Regions from separate parts of the Homo sapiens genome. Here region 2 is linked to region 1. Evidence: promoter capture Hi-C in 16 types of primary human blood cells and fetal thymus (Javierre and others, 2016). All regions are on one chromosome and are shown on one strand. The core of a region is centred on a gene start or on the middle of the fragment in contact, and the rest is flanking DNA. Distances in the headings are between cores, read along the strand shown. Region 1 holds the start of ZNF446 (zinc finger protein 446). Region 2 holds the start of ZNF543 (zinc finger protein 543).

What was found. The method cuts DNA at HindIII sites, captures the fragments that hold promoters and counts their contacts. A CHiCAGO score of 5 or more calls a contact.
Region 2: a contact is called between the fragment with the promoter of ZNF543 here and the fragment with the promoter of ZNF446 in region 1, in 1 of 17 cell types (fetal thymus). The highest score is 5.4, in fetal thymus.

Annotation. Positions count from the first base shown.
Region 1 is chr19:58,475,099-58,479,356 of GRCh38, forward strand. ZNF446 (zinc finger protein 446) reads left to right here and starts at 1,254. Exons shown (of 7, transcript NM_017908.4): 1 at 1,254-1,406; 2 at 2,081-2,462; 3 at 2,539-2,728; 4 at 2,989-3,083. The coding sequence starts at 2,121. It overlaps ZNF324 (zinc finger protein 324), which reads left to right. Exons shown (of 4, transcript NM_014347.3): 4 at 1-338. RefSeq lists enhancers at 343-432, 493-552, 793-1,042, 864-1,158, 1,313-1,512. The HindIII fragment of the contact is 6,419 bases long and covers 1-1,946 here.
Region 2 is chr19:57,319,124-57,322,978 of GRCh38, forward strand. It overlaps ZNF543 (zinc finger protein 543), which reads left to right and starts at 1,349. Exons shown (of 4, transcript NM_213598.4): 1 at 1,349-1,748. The coding sequence starts at 1,731. RefSeq lists enhancers at 1-242, 1,168-1,287, 1,298-1,447. The HindIII fragment of the contact is 3,609 bases long and covers 1-2,336 here.

The DNA of each region.
Region 1 (4,258 bases), core at 4-2,503:
CACCTCATCCCCAAAAACAACCTGAGGAGGCCGTTGGAAAGCTCCGAGTTGACAAGTCTCATCCACGCACATGCTCGGTGCTTCCAATCGGTGATCAAGACCACTGCTCTTCATCCAGAGCAGGCAGCAGGGATTCCCAGGTATCCAAAGAAACCAAAACAGGCGGTGTAATTTAGGACTGACTAAGTAATGGCTCGGCCACTTTTAAGTGTGGAAGCAAAACTGACCCCACAGATTTAGAAAACTGTAACACTGCTTATTGGGAGAAACTAGTGTCACCCTGGCTAGTTCTGCTCCCCAAATTCAAAGGTAAATAAACGGTTGAGCATGTCCGATCAGCCTGGAGGGAAACCTCCACCCCCGACTTTGTAGGACTGACATCTGAAGACGTCAGAGACTGCGGTCACAACCGTCGGTACCTCCTTAGGGCGCTTAACAGAGGTCAAAGATGGCCCTCGCACCCTCCTGGCGGGAGAAAGCCCAGGCTCAGGGTGGTCTTCTACACCACCGCCTCTCCCGGGTCCACTTGGAAGCGAGTCCCAGCGAACTACTCGACCTAGGAAACCACTGGGCCGCCACTTCCAGCCTCTTCGGAAGTCGAGGCAACGCTCCTGAACGTTGCCACGGGAACAGCTGGAGGCGGGCGGATATGCCCTAGCGTTATCTAGGGGCTGGCCCGGGGAATGGCGTGGGGGCGGCGGGGCCAAGCAAGCGCCACCTCTGATTGGGCAAAACCCCCTCCCCTCACCTGCCAATAGAAACCGGCCCACTGTACAGACGCGCAAGTTTATAACCCGGGAAGAGCTGCTCTCAGAGCGGAGGGAGACCATATAACCCTGGGACTCTGCCGTACCTCCTAGAGGAACAGAGCGCCTCTCAGGCGTCAGAGGCTGCTGCAAATGCGGGTCAGCGGGTCACGGTCGCGCCTGTCTTGCTGATGCTCATGGGAAATGTAGTTCAAAGGGCATGGGCGGTGCCTTCGGTGCAGGCGAGAGATTGGTCAGCGCGGCGTCGCCGGGGCAACACCCGGCTGAGGCGCCCCGCGTTGTGCGGCGCCACATCCGGGAAGCGGCCTCCAAGCAACCGCTCCGGGTTGAGGTGAGCGCAGGCTGCCAGAGTGGGCGCAGCCTTTCCACCCCGTGGGAGGGCTTGGGGTCGCCCTCTGGGGCCTGAACGGCTCCTGCTGTCGGCGCCCTGGAGGGCCCGCCCACTTCCCGACAGGCCGCGCGCGTCACCTCAGCCTTCGCTCAGGCCTTTCCTACCCTCAACGCCGTTCCGGGGGGCCGGGCCTGGCAAGTCCTCTTGGAACGCCTCCCTCTTGCCTTCCCCTTTTGGGGACAGATCCCGAAGTTCGAGCATCCCTCGGATAGGCCGGGTGTCAGGCCTGGTCTCTCAGGCCCGTCCAGGTGGGCGTCTTTCACTGCAGACCTTCAGGGCCGGGATGCTGTGGCCATCCCTCGACTCCGCGCAACGTGGAGCTTTGGCCCCGTTTTTCTTGGCCTTTGCTTTTCGTTTTCACATGCACGGGCCCCGGCAGTGTGAGTCGCCCACGGCTCGCTGTGGTCAGCGAGCACGATGTCCACGTGCCCCCTCCCCAGAGCCATTCCTAAAGGAGGTCCCACCCAGTCAACCTCCCCGAGATTGTGGAGGGCGACTCGTCCCCGTACATTACAGCCTGGCCCCACCTTCTACCCGCCCACCCTGGTCCACTCTCCTCGCACCTCGGCTAGACACTGTGGCTCCTCAGCCTGGCGCTGGAACTCTGTGATGACTGTCTTTCTCCACCTCTTTAGCGTCATCTCCCAGCAGTCCCCTGCTGGACCCAACTGTTTGCAATTTCCAGGAAGCTCCCTGGACACCTTGCGTCCAAGCATTTGTCCCTGAGGCTTCCTCCTGCTCTCATTTGCCATCATTGTTTGGGTCCTGTGACCCTCCTCCTTCCATGAAGCTTTCTTGGCCTTATCTCTTCTGGCCTCAGAGTACACTTGGTCCTGGTCTCAGCCCCCTGGGCTGAGCCTGGTGTCTGCCTTCCCCTGGCCAGATTCTCTTGGCTGACATTCCGACCCTTCCTTTTCTGTAGGCCCATCTTGACGATTCCAAGACCACCCCCTTGAGCAAGAATGCCATCCCCTCTGGGTCCCCCATGCCTGCCCGTCATGGACCCAGAGACCACCCTTGAGGAGCCTGAGACTGCCCGCCTCCGCTTCCGAGGGTTCTGCTACCAGGAGGTGGCAGGTCCCCGAGAAGCCCTGGCCCGGCTGCGTGAGCTGTGTTGCCAGTGGCTGCAGCCTGAGGCACACTCCAAGGAGCAGATGCTGGAGATGCTGGTGCTGGAGCAGTTCCTGGGCACACTGCCTCCCGAGATCCAGGCCTGGGTGCGCGGTCAGCGGCCAGGCAGTCCTGAGGAGGCCGCTGCCCTAGTCGAAGGACTGCAGCATGACCCTGGGCAACTGTTGGGCTGGGTGAGTGTGGCTGGCATCAGCTTCTTGGAGGGATAGACCCTGGCTAGAGCCATTGTGACCTACCTCTTCTCCTCAGATCACAGCCCATGTCCTGAAGCAGGAGGTGCTCCCTGCAGCCCAGAAGACAGAGGAACCACTTGGGAGCCCCCACCCCTCAGGGACAGTGGAGTCCCCTGGGGAAGGTCCCCAGGACACCAGAATAGAGGGGTCTGTCCAGCTCAGCTGCAGTGTGAAGGAGGAGCCCAATGTCGATGGACAGGAAGTGGGTGAGGTTGGGGTCCCACCAGAGATGAGGGACTCCTGGAGGAAGTGTGGACATTCCTGGCTAGGGTGGGAGTCCCAGGAGAGGTGTGTCAAGGCTGGGACTCCTGAAGTGAATGTGGATGTCCCTGTCTGGGATGGGGACCTGGGAGGCAGGAGCCAAGGGCTGGCTACGTGCCATGTCACACAGCAGAGGAGCTCCTCATCTGCCATGGCTCATGTGGGCAGCCCCTGACACCACCCTTCCATCTGCCCCACTTTTCAGCACCCTCCAGCCCTCCACTTGCAGCACAGTCCCCTGAGGGGAACCATGGACACCAAGAACCAGCCTCCACATCCTTCCACCCACCCAGGATTCAGGTGAGCAGCCCCAAGTGGGAAGTATAGGCCCCAGGTGTGAGAAGGGACTGTCCCCATGGCTGCCCTCTGCCTGGTGGTTTTCCAGGCTCCTTGACTAGTGGCTCTTTGCTTCCCAGAAGTGGAGTCTGTAAAAGCTGTACCCCTCCACAGGACCTGGGGCAGAGGGACAGACTGGTGATCTATTATTGAAAAGGATTTGGGGCTGGACATGGTGGCTTACACCTGTAATCCTAGCACTTTGGGAGGCTGAGGTGAGCGGATCACCTGAGGTCAGGAGCTCGAGACCAGCCTGACCAATGTGGTGAAACCCTGTATCTACTAAAGATACAAAAATTAGCCAGAAGTGGTGGCAGGCGCCTGTAATCCCAGCTACTAGGGAGGGTGAGGCAGGACAATTGCTTGAACCCAGGAGGCAGAGGATGCAGTGAGCCGAGATTGTGCCACTGCGCTCCAGCCTGGTCAACAAGAGCAAAATTGTGTGTCAAAAACAAAAAAAAAAAAAAGGATTTGGGCCTCAAGCCATGGAAACCCAGTTTAGAGTGGCTGGAACTAGTGGGCTTGGCTTCCTCACCTCCAGAGAAGTCAGCTGGGAGGTTTGCTGCTCCCAGAGGTCCTGAGCCAGACCTGGGGATTTGAACTTTTGTGTGTAGCTGGGGAGGGGAGAAGATGACCAGCTGTGGCAGGACTCCCCCCACACCTGAGACCAGATGGAGACACTCTCCCTGGGAAATGCCCGAAGTCCCTTCTCTCCTAGGGGTTTCTTCAGAGGCCACCTGTTAGGCCTGGAAGCTCAGCTTGAGGCCTCTTCTACCTGGATCGCTTGGTTCCCAAGTGTGGGTAGCAAGGTCTTTTCCTCTCCCGGCTCCTCTAACAACTCCACTGGGGAGCTTCAGCAGCAACATTGCTGGTTGAGATGTGTTTCGAGGCTAAGAAGTCCTTCCAGGCTCCCTCCACAGCCCCATGGCACAGTCAGAAAGTGAGGCAGGGTGGGTAGGCTGCACTTCCCAGTGTCCTCACCTCCAGCCAGCACCATCTCTAGCTGTGGCTCCTCACAGCTGCCGCCTTCCTGCCCCTGGACTTGCCACAGCTTGTCCCTCAGGATTATTTTTCCCAACCCAGCAAAGCCCCAGATGATGGGACTCAGGCAGCAAGGAGGGCTGACCCCCAATCAGGGA
Region 2 (3,855 bases), core at 99-2,598, 1.2 Mb before region 1:
GCTGCAAAAGCCATGATTTTTTTTAATGACTGAGTAGTATTCCATGGAGTGTATATATATATACACATATATACATATACATACATATATATACATATATATACATATACATACATATATACATATATACATATACATACATATATATACATATATATACATATACATACATATATATACATATATATACATATACATACATATATATACATATACATACATATATATACATATATATACATATACATACATATATACACATATATATACATATACATACATATATACATATATATACATATACATACATATATACATATATATACATATACATACATATATACATATACATACATATATATACATATATACATATACATACATATATATACATATATATATCGCATTTTCTTTATCCAATCATCTGTCGATGGACACTTAGGTTGATTCTATGACTTTGCTACTGTGAATAGTGCTACAGTAAGCATGTAAGTACAGGCATCTTTTTGATATAGTGGTTTATTTTCCTTTAAGTAAATACCCAATAGTGGAATTGCCAGATCAAATGGCAGTTCTATTTTCAGTTCTTTGATAAATCTCCATACTGTTTTCCATAGAGGTTGTACTAATTTACATTCCCACCAATAGCATATAAGCGTTCCCTTTTCCTTGCATCCATACCAACATCTGTTGGTTTTTTACTTTTTAATAATAGCCACTCTGACCAGTATAAGATGGCATCTCAGTGTGTTTATGTGTGTGTGTTTTCTCTCATCATATCTCATTATAACCTCAAATTCCTGGGCTCAAGCAATCCTCTTGCTTCAGCCTCCCAGTGTCTAGGACTACAGGTGTACACCATCATGCCTTGCTCTTTTTTTTTTTTTTGGTAGATATAACATCTTACTATATTGCCCAGGGTGGTCTCAAACTCCTGACCTCAGCAATTATTTTGTGTTGGCATCCCAAAGCACTGAGATTACATATATGAGCTACCTCCCTAAAATAAGGGAAGTGAGCCAGAAGCTCTGGGCCCAGCCCATGATCTCAATCGGGGCGAATATCCCCGCCTCCTGACCTCAATTTTCCTAAGCTAGAAAGGACCTTTCGACCCTCCGACTTGTGCCCATAGTAAAGCGGCGGCCCTAAGACGACGCGGGGGTCCTTGTGCGCACTTAAATGGAGTCGGCTGCGCTTGGTGAGTTCCCACACCCGGTAGATGTGAGGGAAAAACTGCCTTACTCAGAAGGCACCACCCCTTGCGTCGGCCGCGGACTCTAGGCCAATGACGGGCCAGGACACGGGCGATTTCTGCGGGCCAGGGCGGCGGAGGTGGGACTTCCGCTTCGTCGCGTGACGTCATCTCCGTGAGCAGGATTGGCCCTGGAACAGTGTGGGGCCTGGACCGCTGGGTAGGCGCGTCCAGCGGCCTGAGCAGGGGAGGGTAATGAGGCTGTTACGCGCCTTCTCCGCATCTTGGCGGGAGCCTGACGCCCCGCTTCTTCCCTAACGGGGTGTTCCACCGGCGCCTGCCGAGGCCTAGGCCTCCGCAGCCGCCCTCCGTCTCCTCAGCCCCGACGCTGCGCCCGCTTTGTGCGCATTTTTCTCTGGGGAAACTGAGGCTCCGAGTGCGAAAGTCAGCCGAGGTCGCCCCGCCCAGGACAGAGAAGGGCTGGGGGTCGGCTGAGCCGCGGCATTCCCGGGCCCCGCTAGGGCTGCAGGGTCTCAGGATGGCAGCCTCGGCGCAGGTGAGTGGACGAGGTTTTGGCCTTGCTGCTGCTCTGCTACTTCTGGAGGCCTCGTGGGCAGGCAGAAGCCAAGACAGCCACAGGATGTTTCTTTGTCGCCGTCGTTTATTTAAGAGAAGTGGCCGTAGCTTGTCATTTCCTTTATCCGCAGTCCTGCAATAGTGTTGGCCTCCGACAGGTGCTCAGTCCTTGGTAGAAGGATGAATGATGCTTCCTTCATGGATCTCATCACACTTCCCTTAAATCCAACCTCCTCTGTTGCCTGCCAGCCCCTACCCCATCCACCTGGCCAACCACCCCTGACCTTGTCTCTCCATTTTTCCCTTGTCCTTTGCTCTTCAGAGCCACCAACCTGACCGTGCAGTCTTCTTCCTTTTTCCAGGCTTTCTCTTTGCACTTCCCTTTGCCTTGAACACTGCCCCTATAACTTCGCAGGGCCTCCCTCTCATATCTTTCTGGCCTCTGTCCAGATGTCACCTATTTGGAGGTGGCTTTCTTGGCAATTCCGGCTAAAGTGGCGCCTTACGCACTTGCCCATTTTTGGCAATGTGTGGCATTTTTGTATAGAGAATCTGACGATATTAAAGAAGCTTGCCGTTTGAGTTGGTCTAGGATGTTATGTGAACAAAGAGAAACGAAATAATTGCAAAGAGTGACAGCTGATCATAAAGAGTCCTTGCTGTGGGCTGATTGGCAGGCATTATTTAACCCTCAGCTCCTTTAATCCTGAACTCCTTAGAATTAGGTTCTCTTGTCCTCACTGTTTTACACAAGAGCAGCTGGAGGCTCACATAGGTTCAATTACCTGCCTTACATCACTGTAGCTCTTAAGTATCAGAAACTAACAACTGGTGTGTCTACCATCACAGCCTGTGTTTTTACCCTCTTCTTTGCCCGCAATGGTTAGGGAGGCCTGGGGGTGACACCTAAAGTAAACTTTGCAAGTTGAGCAGGCTTCCTTCTAGCAGGTGGTCTTGGACATGAGGAGTCATGGCATTTCATGCTGGTGGAACTGTGTGGACTAAAAAAAAATGGTTTATTGGTTGTTTAAGGAGTCCGCAGGGGACCCGTGTGGCTTCCACAGTGGTTTCCTGAGTGGTTTTCTCCTATACCAGCTGACACATGTCTTGGGACACAAGATTTTGTGGTCTTTTGCTAGATGTGCCTTCCTCCTTAGCCAGGACAGACATAGCCAGTCAGGGGCCCATGTTCTCATGGCTACAACCTGCTGTGTCCTCTGTGACTCTTGTTCCTTGCTCCTGAAGTATCCTGACCTCAGGGATACTTGTTGGTAGGACTCAAACAGGAAAAGGTAGTGATAGCTCGTTGTGGATTCTTCCTATGAGAATGGGCATCTGTGAGGCCCAGAAGTGTCCGAGGCAGCAGATGCAGGTCCAGGCCCTGCCACTTTTGAGGCAGGTGCCACCACCTCAGGTGACTCTTCTGTGAGGTAGGTGATTATGACTATGCTGCTCTGCCCAGGTCCATGAAAATATTTCAAGTGGCTAACCCCAGCACAGTGGCATGTGTCTGTATATCCAGCTTGGGAGGCTAAGGCAGGAGGATCATGAGTTCAAGCCCAACCTGGGCAAAATATTGAGACCCTGTCTCAAAAAAAAAAAAAAAAATCCTGAAAATATTTTCAGGGTGGCTCAAATGGATGTATTTCAATGTTTCCCATCCTCATTAACTGTGCATTAACTTTGCTAATGAAGGAGTGTCGGGTTGCATGATTAGAACATAGACCATAGGGCCCTGGGTTCAAATTCTGTCTCTCCTGATAAGAGATGTGACTTTGGGTAGACTAGTGGAGGTCCTGGACCTCAAGTCTCTGAGTGTGACATGGAGATGATGATGGTGAACTCAGGAGCTGTGGCCCTTTGCCCCAGTGTTTCCTTTACAGCTTTTCTTCAGATCTTTTGACTATTCTTGGTGAAGTGGAAAACCCTGTTGTGTTGACCTGGACATCAGGGCTCAGATAAATGAAATGAGATTTCCAAGGTCACATAGCAGGCTTGTGTTGATTTCAGGAATTTGGTTTTAAACCTCAGGAGTCTGACTCCTGAGCTGGGGACTTTTAGTCACTTTACCATGGCATGTAAAGCCA